Regions from separate parts of the Homo sapiens genome. Here region 2 is linked to region 1. The links are contacts of gene promoters, found by promoter capture Hi-C in human tissues and cell types (Jung and others, 2019). All regions are on one chromosome and are shown on one strand. Each heading gives the region's core, a stretch centred on a gene start or on the middle of the fragment in contact. The rest is flanking DNA. Distances are from core to core; before and after follow the strand shown.

Region 1 (6,530 bases), core at 2,598-5,097:
AATGTGATAGTATTAAGAGATGGGGCCTTTGGGAGGTGAATGAGATTGGTGCCCCTGAAAAGAGGCTTGAGGGAGTGCCCCTTCCCTTTCTGCCATGCGAGGACACAGCAACAAGGCGTCACCTAAGAAGCAGAGCAGGAACCCTCACCAGACACTGAATCTACCTAAACCTTTATCCTGGACTTCCCAGCATCCAGAACTGGAAGAAATAAGTTTCTGTTGTTTATAAATTACCCAATCTAACACATTTTGTTACAGCAGTCTGAACAAACTGATATAGGAGTATTGGGTATTGGATCCTGGGCTTAATATGTATGGTCTTGGTGCAAATTTTGGCAAGAACTTAGGCTTATACACCGAAAGAGCAATAATACTTTATTTAAAATATATACAAAATTATTACTTTGAAACATATATATTACTGTCCAACATACATCATATAACACTGATTGATGTAAATTTTGGTACCTTCATTTATTCAGTTGTGATTTCCCTTTTGTTCAAGGCTCCTGAAGAAAATTATCTGAAATGCCCACCAGAGGGGAGGTGCCCATGGGCTTGGTCCCCTTGGTGACTTGGCTGTGCTGTTGGGCACTACTGAGGCCCTAGAGCCCTGCTCCATGGAGCTGAAGGCAAATCCCCACCTTGCTGGGGGACCTGGGGACACAGAATTGATGGAACCCACCTCCGTCGGTCACACATCAATTGCTCATCTTCTCCCTCTCTCTCCATCTGGGTATAAACAGGGAGGGAGGTGAGGGGGAACAAGTGTCAGTTATCTTCTTAACCCTCCTCTGGGCTGAAGAGGAGGGTTAAGAGAAATGATGTTTTCCCTTTCACCCCCCTTTCTTCTCTGCCCATGTTACCACTACTGCGGGAAGAAAGTATGAGAAGGAGGAGCTGGCTCTTAATGCAGTTTAGAAAGAAACGGGAAGTGAAGCAAAAATGGGGCTTCTGTGCTCTTAGGCTGAATTTGAGTTACCATGATCCTGAGATAAATCAGACAACTGCTTTTGGGCATGGCCTATGATGCCTCATTCATCACTATCTCCCGCACAGTGCCTTACACCTAGTAGGCACTTAATGCATGCTCTTTGCATGGATGAATAAATGAATGCAGGGGATCTGATGACTACAGACAGAAAACACACATTTCAGAATCAGAGTGTTTGAGAGATGAAAGGGGACATTGGAAATCATCTAGATCTGCTTCCTCATTTGGCATATGGGGAAACTGAGGCCCACAGAAATGAGAAACGATCAAGGTCAAATGACTAGTTCCTGATAGAGTCAGACCTGGAATCAGATTTTCTAAATCTCTCCTTAAATTTCCCACCCTCTTCAGATCTGGAACAATAAAGAGAGCTCAGTGGGCTCAGTGCTATGCCCTGGACTCAGGACCCTCATATGCCAGTGTGGGGACCCCTGGTGGTGGCCGAATAGAGCACAAGCAGAGAAGCCCCCTTTGGGCAACTTCACTTCTGGGATCTGGTCCCAGTAGGTAAACAGGATGGCAGCAGTGGATCTGAATGAGGTAGGAGGAACACAGAGACCAGTGGGGACCCCGAGAATTGGGCTCGTTGGTGTGGCACCTGCAGCGGGTCCAGTGCTGAAGTGGATTTGGTGGGTTGAAGGGCTCTGGAGCTCCAGGGTGTCCAAAGGAAATGTGTAAACTAAGCCCAGCCTGCTCACTGCTGACACTGAAAGCAGGTCACTACAGATGCTTGCTCAGCGGGTGAGCTATAGCACACTGGATATGGATGGGAGGAAAACGAAGGGAGGCAGGGAGAGGGGTGGAGGAAAGAGGGAAGGGCCAAGGGGCTCTCCAGCAGACAGGGAGGCCTAGTGGCCTCAGGGTGCAGGGACGGGGTGGGCCCAGCAGGTGGGGGGCGCTGGGGACATGCAGGAGTTCCCGGATGTGCTTCTCACTTCAGCTGGGCTGCCCAGGACCTTCTCTGGGCTTCAAGCCTCTGAGGCCTCCCATGCGTCATTGCAGGGAGCTCAAAGCACAGAGGCTCACTCTGCTTCCCCGTGTGATTTTGGTTTCTTTCTAGAAAAGATACTTAGGCATGGGAAGAAATGCACATCTGATCAACATAAAGAACCTCATGTGAGTCCCCACACACCACAAACATCAATAGCTGAAGAACCCTGGTGTCAAACAAAATGAATGAACACCCAGGAGCTCACACCTACTGGGGTTTCTCAGGGTTTCTCTTGAGCAGGTGCAGAGAGGGCTCGCAGGGCAGGTTGAAGCTCTTGTGACTGACCAGTCCTCCTGCCCCACACTCAACCAGCTTCATTCCCTGTTGCCCTCCTCCTCCCTTTCTGCCCAACTTCTGCACTCCCCAGCCCACTCCATTTTTGACTTAATGACGTTGCAGTTCCCATCAGCCCCATATTTGGCTCTCTGCAAAGAGAAACAAAAATAATTCATCGTGCCAAAATTTGAAATTTGGGAGCTGCAGCTCATCTGATTACAAATGAGTACCTTTGTGCTTAAATTGCCACCACAAAGTGCAGACTATGACCAACATGCCAGGGAACAGAGCAGGACAGATCCACCCTGGGACTGGGGCTCAGCTGCCCCTTCTCTGTGGCCCCCTGACCCCCTAAACCGCAGACTGGTTTTCATTGCACACGTAGACTGTGCTTGGCTGGATTCTCCTTCGGATCCGCTCAGGCACTTTGGGGAGGATTTGGAAGGTCTGGGGCAGCAACTCTATGCAGGCCTCGCGGAATTTTTTGATTCTCCAGCAGTAGACGATGGGGTTGAAGACGGACTTGAGGTAACTGAGCCACAGGACGCAGGTGCTGGTGGCGTAGAAGGAGGAACCGCAGTAAAAGCGCTGGCTAAACACAGACAGGAGGCTGTAGACGGAGTGGGGCAGCCAGCAGAGGGAGAAGCCCACGAAGAGGATCAGGATGGTGGTGAAGGCCTTGGTCTTGAAGCTCAAGTCCACGCTGACCTGTTGCTGCCGCTGCAGGCGCCGCAGGCCCGCCCTGGTGAGCTGCCGCAGGTCCAGGCTGTCCGACTGGTTGTGCACGCGCACGGCGTTCTTGCGGACCGTGTTGAGGATGCACATGTAGGCGCACAGCATGACGCCAAAGGGCGCGAAGAACACGGCCACCACCAAGGTGACCACGTAGGCGCGGTCAGCGGGGAGCTCCGTGTAGCCCAGCACGCACTGTGGGGCCCGCGCCGGCACCTCCACCAGCGTCCAGCCCGTGAGCGAGGGCCCCGCGATGCAGAAGGACAGCACCCAGGAGACCGCGATGATCACCTTGGCCCTGCGCGGGTTCAGCTTGTCCTGGCGCTGGACGATGATGAGGAAGCGGTCCACGCTGATGATGAGCAGGATGGCCACGCCCTCCAGGACAAAAAACCAGTAGAGCGTGGCTGAGAGGCGGCAGAAGTGGTCCCCAAAGTGCCAGCGCACGGTGATGAGGGTGACGGCGGTGAAGGGCATGCAGCAGAGGGACAGCATGATGTCGGAGAAGGCCAGGGTGGCCAGCAGCAGGTTGATGGCCGAGCGCATAGCCGGCCTCTGGTACACGATGATGCAGACCACAGTGTTGCCCAGGAACCCCACCACGGTCATCAGCAGCATCACTATGGCCAAGGAGATCCTGAGGGGTGCGGGCAACTGGGTGGACCCCGAGTCTGAGGCGTTGCTGGTGTTCAGCAGCAGGTATGTGTAAGCCTCAAGGGACGTGCTGTTGCAGGCCATCGTGGAGAGACCCTTGGAGCTGGGACAGAAATGGCCGGGAGGGCTCCCCTCAGCACTTGGGTGGCTGCCATTCTTTGTCTGCTGGCTGCATCTTCCTGGATGTCTGTGGACCTCTGGGGCACTGGAATGGTCTTGGGGAGAAATGTCCGTCTTTGTGAGCACTAGCTGGGATTTGCGATTCATGGATCACATCCTAAGCATCTCTGTGGAGAGCGACTCTGTGCACAGCTTCGTGCTTGGACCCTCTGTAGTGGACAGCAAGCAAAAGTACAAAAGAGAAGGGGGTTAGAGTTTCCAAACGCGTTGAAGAAAGCACGCGTTTAAGCTTTACAGGTGTTTCTAAACAAGTTTATTTACCACGTGGGACAAAGCTTGATATTCACAAATACTGTCTGAGTCTTGTCAAGCAGCCCAGAAAAACCTAATCAGCTATCTTCTGAGGAAACTGAGGAAGTACACTTTGTAGTTAGTGTTTATGTAATAACTTGAGTTTTCAGCAACCTGTCGGAATGAAGCCTTGGTCTAGCCAACTAACGTTAGAATCCTGCTCCACAAGAGAAAGGTTTTGCTTGTTTCATTCTCTGCTATCTCCCAGTACTGACAACAGTGGCTGGCATGCAGTAAGTGTCCTTGTTGAGGACACTTGGATGCTTGTTGAGTAGATGAATAAGTGATAGTTGATGCTGCTGCTATAATATTTGTTTAGCTTTAAAAAACCCCACTTCATCGAGGAATGACTGACATGTCAAAAGCTGTACAAATTTACATCTCAATATACCAGAAACCCATCACCACCAAGGCCAAAAACATATCCCACTCCCCCTGCCAAAGCTCTCTCCTGCCATTTTTCTAGTATTATCATTTTGTTTTGGTGGTAAGAATACTTCACCTAAGATCTGCCCTCTTAGCAAATTTTAAGTATACATTTTTAAGTTTTAATTTTTTAAAAGAAATTGTAAGTCTGTTTGTTTAACTTTATTTGATAAGTGTAAATTCACATGGATAAGTGTAAATTCACATGGAGTTATAATAATAAATACTATGGTGAAATTCTGTGTGTCCTTCACCCAGTTTTCCCTAATGGTAACATCTTGGATAACTGTGGGGCTGCTATACTATTACTTCTGGAAGCACAGACTGGGAGAAGGGAACTTTCCCCAAAGGTAAGGCCTTTTAAAATACAATGTTAGCTGGGTGCAGTGGCTCATGCCTATAATCCCAGCACTTTGAGAGGCAGAGACAGGAGGATTGCTTGAGGCCAGGAGTTCAAGACCTGCCTGGGCAACATAGAGAGATCCCATCTCTACACACACAAAAAAATGAGCCAGGCTTCCATCTATAGTCCCTGCTACTCAGGAGGCCGAGGCAGGAGGATTGCTCAAGCACAGAAGTTCGAGGCTGTCGTGAGCTAAGAAGGTGTCACTGTACTCCAGCCTGGGTAACAGAGTGAGACCCTGTCTCTTAAAAAAAAAGTAAATGAAATGAGCTTTTATTCCTTACATTCTTGATAAACTTGCTTTCACTTTCAAAAAGATAAATATAATTTTAATTTTGTCTCACTGATGTGGCAAGAGTGTGTTCAGTAGCTCAGGTCTGAAGTCACATCGCCTGGGCTGGGGGAAATCCAGCCTGCGCCATTTATCCACCCTGGACATCTGGCTGTTGGATGCACCTCTTCTTGTAAGAAATTTCTCTTTTCTAAATTCCTTGTGGTCATTGTTACAGATAACTCACACTGAGAGGAATGTGGGCAATGTAAGAAGCCAGGAGGCCTCAGAGCAGGCTTAGAGGACCTGGGAGTGGCAGTGTCTTGGTGATGCTATACTTCAGTTTAGACCCAACCAATCCTTGGTCTTCCTTCCCAAACACACCCAGAATGGGTTCATCTCTCAGTGGTGGGCACCAGTATCCAAACTTTTTCTGAGCTATAAAAATCAGAAACCTGGTGTGTTAATTTATAAGTGGGAATTATCTCTCATTCAGACCAAAATTATGACCCTTCTTCATCTCAATTTTCTGATCTGTGAAATGGAGGTAATTACATATTTACCTCCAGAGTTGGTAAATATAATGTGCAATGTCTGGTAAAAGAAGGGCATTAATAAATTAACTCCATCTCCCTCACTGTTTCAAGTTTAGGGGTTTCTGTCTCTTGGATTAAACTGCAAATTTGTTCATGGCAGGAACCATGACATGCATGTAGGAAGCCCTAATGGATTAAGCTCCTCTTGGAGCACAGAATAAAGGACCACTGAGAAAAAACACAGTATCGTGCATCCATGTGCCTGTCAATCTTAGCCGATAGTGAATCCTTCATCTGCATTCCTCTCCATGCTATAAACTTAGATTTTCCCCACAATGATAGTTACAGAGAGTGATTTCATGCTTAATTAAAGGAACAAATAGTGCAAGGTATTTTTTTTAATGTATATGTCTTGTGGTTGAATCTGATTAAAATTCTTTTGGCTTCTGGACAACAACCTGTCTTAGGTATTTTAATTTAGCATTTTGGTCACAGTCCTGTTGTTAATATCTGAATCAACAGTGCTTTTATTACAAGGGACTAGGGCACTAAGATCTAAGTAAAAGGTAACAAGTGAACAAGAAATATTCTGCTGGTGTTCTTGGAGTAACAGCACTCACCGTCTCCAGCGACTTTCACGATGAGAAATGGGTGCCACAATATGAATTTAAAGCTGTGAAAGAAGCGAGCTGGGAACTGAACCGTTTCAAGGTATTTGTTTTAGTTCCTTTCCAAATGATCTCACCCTGGAACTGGGAGGCTGTGCAAGTGTCAGG
Region 2 (6,530 bases), core at 2,972-5,471, 170 kb after region 1:
TACTTATGTTACCTTTCATAATCGAGAAGTTTAAAATATGTAAATAGTCAAATCTGTCGCTTTTCCTCTACGGCAGCATGACTTGTTTTTTCATGATTCATCCCATGAAGGAATCCTTTATAGGCATTTTCTCCCTAATTTCCGCCCCCGCATGAAATGTTAATACCACAGATACACTACACATCTGCTGAAGTATACTGTGGCCCACTGGAGGGCCACAAACCATTGTAACAGTTAGGTTTCCCCACCCCCGTGAACCAGTCTTTGCCCCCACTGAGGAAACATGCTTTAAGGCTTTGGGCTCTCTAAAACTATTTTCTTGTATTTCTTCTGGAATTTTTATTTTATTTTCATGTTCAAATATTTAATCTATCTGGAATTTATGTTTGTGAGGCAGAAATCCAAGAACTATTTTGTTCAGTAAAGAGTCATTATCTCTCTACAGTTTTTTGAATAGTACATGCTTTTCTATTGAAATACCACCTGTATTATATGTAGGATGTCTTTCTTCTGAAACAAAGACCACATTTTCATAATAAATGCTAAAAAGAAAGTCTTGCTTGGGTATTTAGCTTGAAAAACCAAATTCTTATTTGCTAATGGCTTATGGTTGATTTCAGCACTTTTCCAAAATCATTGTCATAGACTTCATGAATCAAATCCGGCATATTTTCTAATATTTTTCTTTTCTTATGCAATTGATTTTCACTGTATGGTTAGTCCGTCAGAAAGTGATAAAAAATGACAAACATCATGGCTGCAGACAAGACTCTACTGGTAAGCTTGGAGAGATGCTTGAGTTGAGTCTCATATCATGGGATTGATTTCATTACATATGTGAATGTATACACACACACACACACACACACACACTTGACTTCACCGAACCTAAGGTATCACAGATTTTAAGATGCCTCATCATGTATTTTATATATCACAAAGAAAGAGAAAAAATACTGTCAAACCATGATATGTATCATAGTTTACAAAAATTGTGAAGTGTTCCCTGCTGTCAGACATTAAAATTTGAAAAAAAAAAAAAAAAAAGTCTTAGAATTAACTGAATAAGGCACAAACACGTGCTGCCAGGACTTTGCTCATTGGTCTGTCTACTCTGCGTCAGTAACCACCATTTTAATTAGCAGAGCTTTTTGCTGGGTTTTGATACCAGGTATGATGAGCTTACTTCATTACTTAAAACAATTTTTTTTCCCACTGCTTCTTGCACAACTAGACTTGACAAGTTTCTCCCAAAAGTTGTGCCAAAACTTTAAGTAAAGTTATATTCAATTTATCAATAATTTAGAAAGCAGCAACTCTGGAATATTGTCTTCCCTTAGAGAACCATGGAATTTTTCCAACTGTTCAGATTTTCACTTCTGATCTTTAACTGAGTTATCATAATTTTCTATATAAATCTCATATATTTTGCAAGTCTTATTTGTGTATTTTAGTTTCTGTTTCTCTTGATACTGCCCTCCCCTATTCAGTTATCTATAATAAAAACATAATTTTACACAAGTAACACATACTTCCCAGATCACATGTTAAAATTCCGTTGCCAGAACAAGGCGGGAGTTTATTGTTCTGGACTCTCTGTGCATTTACCTATGTATGCCTGCATGAAATAGGGTTGTTTGTGTGGTTCTTTTAAAGATATAAACGGTATTAAACTGTATTTATGCTACATACACCATTTTTTTACTTGCTTTTTCCACTCAAAGTTACACCTCTACTAGCACAACTAGCTCTATCTCACTCTTTTTACGGCCTGTATATTATTCCACAGCATGAGTTTATTTAGCTACCCTATGATGAACATTTAGACTTTTTCCAATTTGTTGCTGATACAATATTTACAATTTCCAACCTGATGATTGTGATAATTGTCTCTCATTATTGTTTTACAAGATGTTATTTCTTTTCTTCTTCTTTTTTTTTTTTGAGATGGAGTCTCCCTCTATTGCCCAGGCTGGAGTGCAGTGGCACAATCTTGGCTCACTGCAACCTCCACCTCCTGGGTTCAAGTGATTCTCCTGCCTTAGCCTCCCGAGTAGCTGGGACTACAGGCGTGCGCCACCACGCCCGGCTATTTTGTATTTTTAGTAGAGATGGGGTTTCCCCATGTTGGCCAGGCTGGTCTTGAACTCCTGACCTTGTGATCCACCTGCCTCGGCCTCCCAAAGTGCTGGGATTACAGGGGTGAGCCACCATGCCCATCCATAAGATGTTATTTCTGATCTCTGATATTTTCAAATGCTTACTGGTACTTTAATTTTTTCTATTTATGAATTGCTTATTTGCCTTTGCTCATTTCTCTAGTAAGCTGCTTTTGTTAATTTGTGAGTAATTTATTCTAGGTATCAGGCCTCTGGCATGTTTCAAATTTCCTAGTGTCTTTGTCAAAGAGAAATTTTTAACTTCAACATAAGTAATTTGTCATCTTTGTCCTTTAGTTTTTGTGATTTTAAGGACATAATATCTATTACTTTAAAAGTATTGAAAGCTGTATGTATATTCTTCAACTAGCCACCTTATTTCTGTTCTAGAGTTTGAATTTCTTAACTCCAAAAACACACAATAATTTTTAAAGTCTTGACCAAACTCTGTTATCTTCTGCATAGTCTATTTTTCAGCATTCCATTAAATGAATTGAGAAAAAGGAGGTACATGTATGTATATACGTATGTATGTGTCTGTATGAATATGTAGGTATGTATTTGTATAGTTGGAATTCAGCGTTTTTAAAACAGTTCTTGTCTGCCAAAATACATAAAGGAAGTGAAAGATTGCAATTCATTTGCTACCAGTAAGACCATCATGTTATTTAGTTCATCATTACATGCCATTCCACACTGATTTCTTTGTGTGTAGATGTGGCTGCCACAGAGTCATCAACTGACAGGATGCTCATATGATCTCTGCAGGATCAGCATTTCGCCCAGTAACTATACTGTGGCATGCTTTTATAAGAGGGTATCATTTTTAAAATTTTCAGAACAATTCATAGTTTAAATGTTTTGAATTCAGGTACCCAAATAATGGTAGTCTGCTGAAATTCTAATATAGTTTTTAGTGAATGTTTTCTATTTTCTAAGTAGGCAGTCATAACATCTGTGAATAATAATCGATTTTCCTAATTTCTTTCAGTTTTCTAATTCATACTTTTTTAGCCACACTTTTTTTTTTAACCATGCTAGGTAAAACTTCCAAAACAATGCCAAATAACACAGGCGAGTATGCACATAACTGTCTTATTCCTGAACTTAATGGGATCTATTGATATATTTTTAAATTTGATGTGTTTCTGTTTGTCTTGATATGCTTTCTCAAACTAAGAAAGTTTCTTTTTATTTCTAGGTTGTGTTTTTACCAAAAAAATTAATGCTCAATTTTGTTAATTAACTTTTTTATTGAAATGTTTTAACCTTGACTCAATTAACACAGAGAATTACATAAATCATCCTTATTTTCCTGGAGAGAAAAAAAGGCCCTCTGGTATACTCTCTTAATATAAAGCTTTACTTGGTTTGCTAGTGTTTTATTTAGTGACAACAGACTATAGCTTTCTTTTTCATGAAATTTATGTCCAGATTTGATAATTGTGTGACCCTCTGAAGGGAATTTAGAAGCTTTCATTCTTTTCTTCTGCTCTACAAGTTTAAATGATAACAATAGTTACATCCTCCTTCAAGGTATGTCAGAGCTTCCCGACAAAACCTTCTAGGCCTGGGCCTTTCTCATTAGACCTTTGGCGCTCCTTTATAACTTCTGCAGCTTTTAGATTAACACAGGGGTACCCAACCCCTGGGCCACAGACAGGTACCAGGTTCTATTGATTTGTATTTGCTGTCATGACTGGTCAACTGGGACCAGAGTGGGTGTTTCGCAGTAAGAGCACTTGGTTCTACAGTAGGGGTCCCCAGCCCCTAGACCACAGACCAGCATAGCTTCATCTGTATTTATAGACATTCCCCATTGCTCACATTACCGCCTGAGTGCCACATCCTGTCAGATCAACAGTGCGATTAGATTCTCATAGGAGCGTGAACCCTATTGTGAACAGCACATGCGAGGGATCTAGGTTGCATGCTCCTTATGAGAATCTAAGGCCTGACGATCTGTCACTGTCTCCCATCAACACCACATGGGACAATGTAGTTGCAGAAAAACAAGCCCAGGCCTCACACTGATTCTACATTACGGTGAGTTGTATAATTATTTCATTATATCTTACAATGTAATAATAGAAATAAAGCTCACAATAAATGTAATGAGCTTGAATCATCCCGAAACCATCCCCCAACCCCTGGTCCGTGAAATCGTCCTTCACAAAATTGGTCCCTGGCGCCAAAAAGGCTGGGGACCACCGGTTTAACCACTATTCTCCTGATTGAGACAACTGTGGCAATTATATTATTCTTTCAACTACATGTCTGAGAGTCAGTTGAGTCTGGTGGTCATACATATGTGTGTGTGCCACAACTGCCTGGGCCTCCCTACATTCTGGCTCAACTATTTCCTGGCTGTTACGTCCTTGGTAAGTTAAACTCCATGTGCTTTTAATTCCTACATTTGTGCAGTGGGGAAAATTACAGTATCTACTTAAAAAACCTGTTGTGAAGAGTGTAAGTTAACACACAGGAAGCACTTAGAACTATGCCTGGCCTACTCTGTTTCAATAAATGCTAACAATTCTTACTTGAGAGATTTTTCAAGTTAGAATAAAGTTACCCATAACAACTGCATACTTTAAAATTACCCTCTGAATATTATTATTTACAATTCTTAATATTGTCCTCTTATGTTTTCTCTTTTTTCCCTGGCCAGATTTGCTAGAAGTTGATTGATTTCACTAGCTTTTTCAAAGAATGACATGGTTTTGTTTATCATACCCCTTCTTTTCAATTTCTTCGCTATGTTCCTCTATTCTATTTTTCTTTTTCTGGCTTCCTGAACCGAAAATTTAGTTCATTTATATTCAGTCTTTCTTAATTTCTAACAAATATATGCTTGTCTCTGTATAATACAATGTCCATATTCCATAGGATTTAATAGGAACTGTTGTCATTGTCATGTCTGTAACCTCAATTTTGATTTTCTCTTTAACTCAACAGTCATATGGTTCTATTGATCTTAACTCAGAAAAATCGAATGATATGATTTTTACTACTTGGAATTCGTTAGGTTTTCTTTATGTCCAATTACATCATAATTCTATTAATAGTCCATAGGCCTCTGCATAGAAAATGTATTCTTTGTATCTGTAACTATAAAATCATGCTGTGTTATTCAAATTCGTTATAGCCTTAAGTTAACGGCTTTTGTTTTGAACATTTCGATGCTAAATGTTGGTGCAAAAAGGTTTGTGGTCATCAAATCTACTCAATGGAGATTAGGTTTTATCAACATAAATTAACATTCTTGCTTCGTTGAAGTATTCCTCACACTCCTTGAATTCCATTTTGTCTAATATGAGTGCTACTCTTTGCTCCTGTTGACCCAGTAGTCATCTTTGTTTCACTTAATATTTTTATCACTTGCTTTAAAACATACAGAGCAAGATTTCATGTTAACTCAATCTAGAAGCTTCCATCTTTTAATAAGGAAAGTGTTAGTACACTATAAGTGTCAAAATCTATCCAAATCTAAAATTCACTGTTACTTTTTTAGCATACAAAAAAATCAGTTTATCCTATATTTATGAAATACAACAAAATTGGGAGGTAGGTAGGTAAGCAACAAAAAAATTTTACTAATTCTAGAGGAGTACTGTTTACATACAGTTACATATAGTAAACTACAACTTAAGATAATCCTACCAGGAGTGACATATTTTCAAAATAACACATGGGCATTTTGCAGGGATATATAGAAGTTTCAGTTGTCACAACCTGGCTGCTAGTAACAATAAACTTCTAATACTGAGAAGCTGGTATGATTTGAAAGAACAAACCAGTCTTAGAGGGGCAGATGTATAAGAAGAGATGCAACTAGTAGAGATATAAAGAACAAAGAGAGAGAGAAATAGGTGAGGAGCCTGAGAGGTTTAAAAAAATAGAAGAGTTAGTAAAGAAGAAGAAGAAAAAAAAATCACTGTCATTACAAACATTTACCGAAAAGCTACTAGGTGTTTAATGTAAGTTACTGTGCCCTGTGCATAGTTTTACTTCTGTAACACTGAGTTGTATCTGCAAAAGTGATGTGCATTTTTAACATAGTCTTCATTTATTATTTCCCCAAAAGCTATTATTAAATCGATGGTATAATTTATAATCAACCATGATTAAGAACTGAGGGAATACAAATGATAGAGCATATTTATAAAAAGATTCAAAACATTTATAATAAGATTCAAACTAAAAGTTATCATTTCCAAGAGTGAACTGGAATAAGAGAATAAATGCCTAGCTTTGAATAAAAATATGACTTAGCAGAAATACCACTGCAAAATAAATAAGTCTTCTATAGAAATATCTGCTATCTTACCAATTTCTATTTAATTCTAAACACACTGATAAAGCGGCCTG

The links. The method cuts DNA at HindIII sites, captures the fragments that hold promoters and counts their contacts. A contact is called where the count stands out against the background at its distance.
Region 2: a contact is called between a fragment that was not itself captured here and the fragment with the promoter of GPR45 in region 1, in 4 of the 25 tissues and cell types used here (H1 embryonic stem cells, bladder, neural progenitor cells and 1 more).

The regions. Positions count from the first base shown.
Region 1 is chr2:105,239,060-105,245,589 of GRCh38, reverse strand. GPR45 (G protein-coupled receptor 45) reads right to left here and starts at 3,847. Exons shown (of 1, transcript NM_007227.3): 1 at 2,123-3,847. The coding sequence starts at 3,731. The coding sequence ends at 2,613. The HindIII fragment of the contact is 15,889 bases long and covers 1-6,530 here.
Region 2 is chr2:105,072,659-105,079,188 of GRCh38, reverse strand. All of the region lies in intron 4 of MRPS9 (mitochondrial ribosomal protein S9), which reads right to left. Among named protein-coding and RNA genes, the nearest start is that of MRPS9-AS1, 27 kb to the left of the region's middle. The HindIII fragment of the contact is 4,140 bases long and covers 2,152-6,291 here.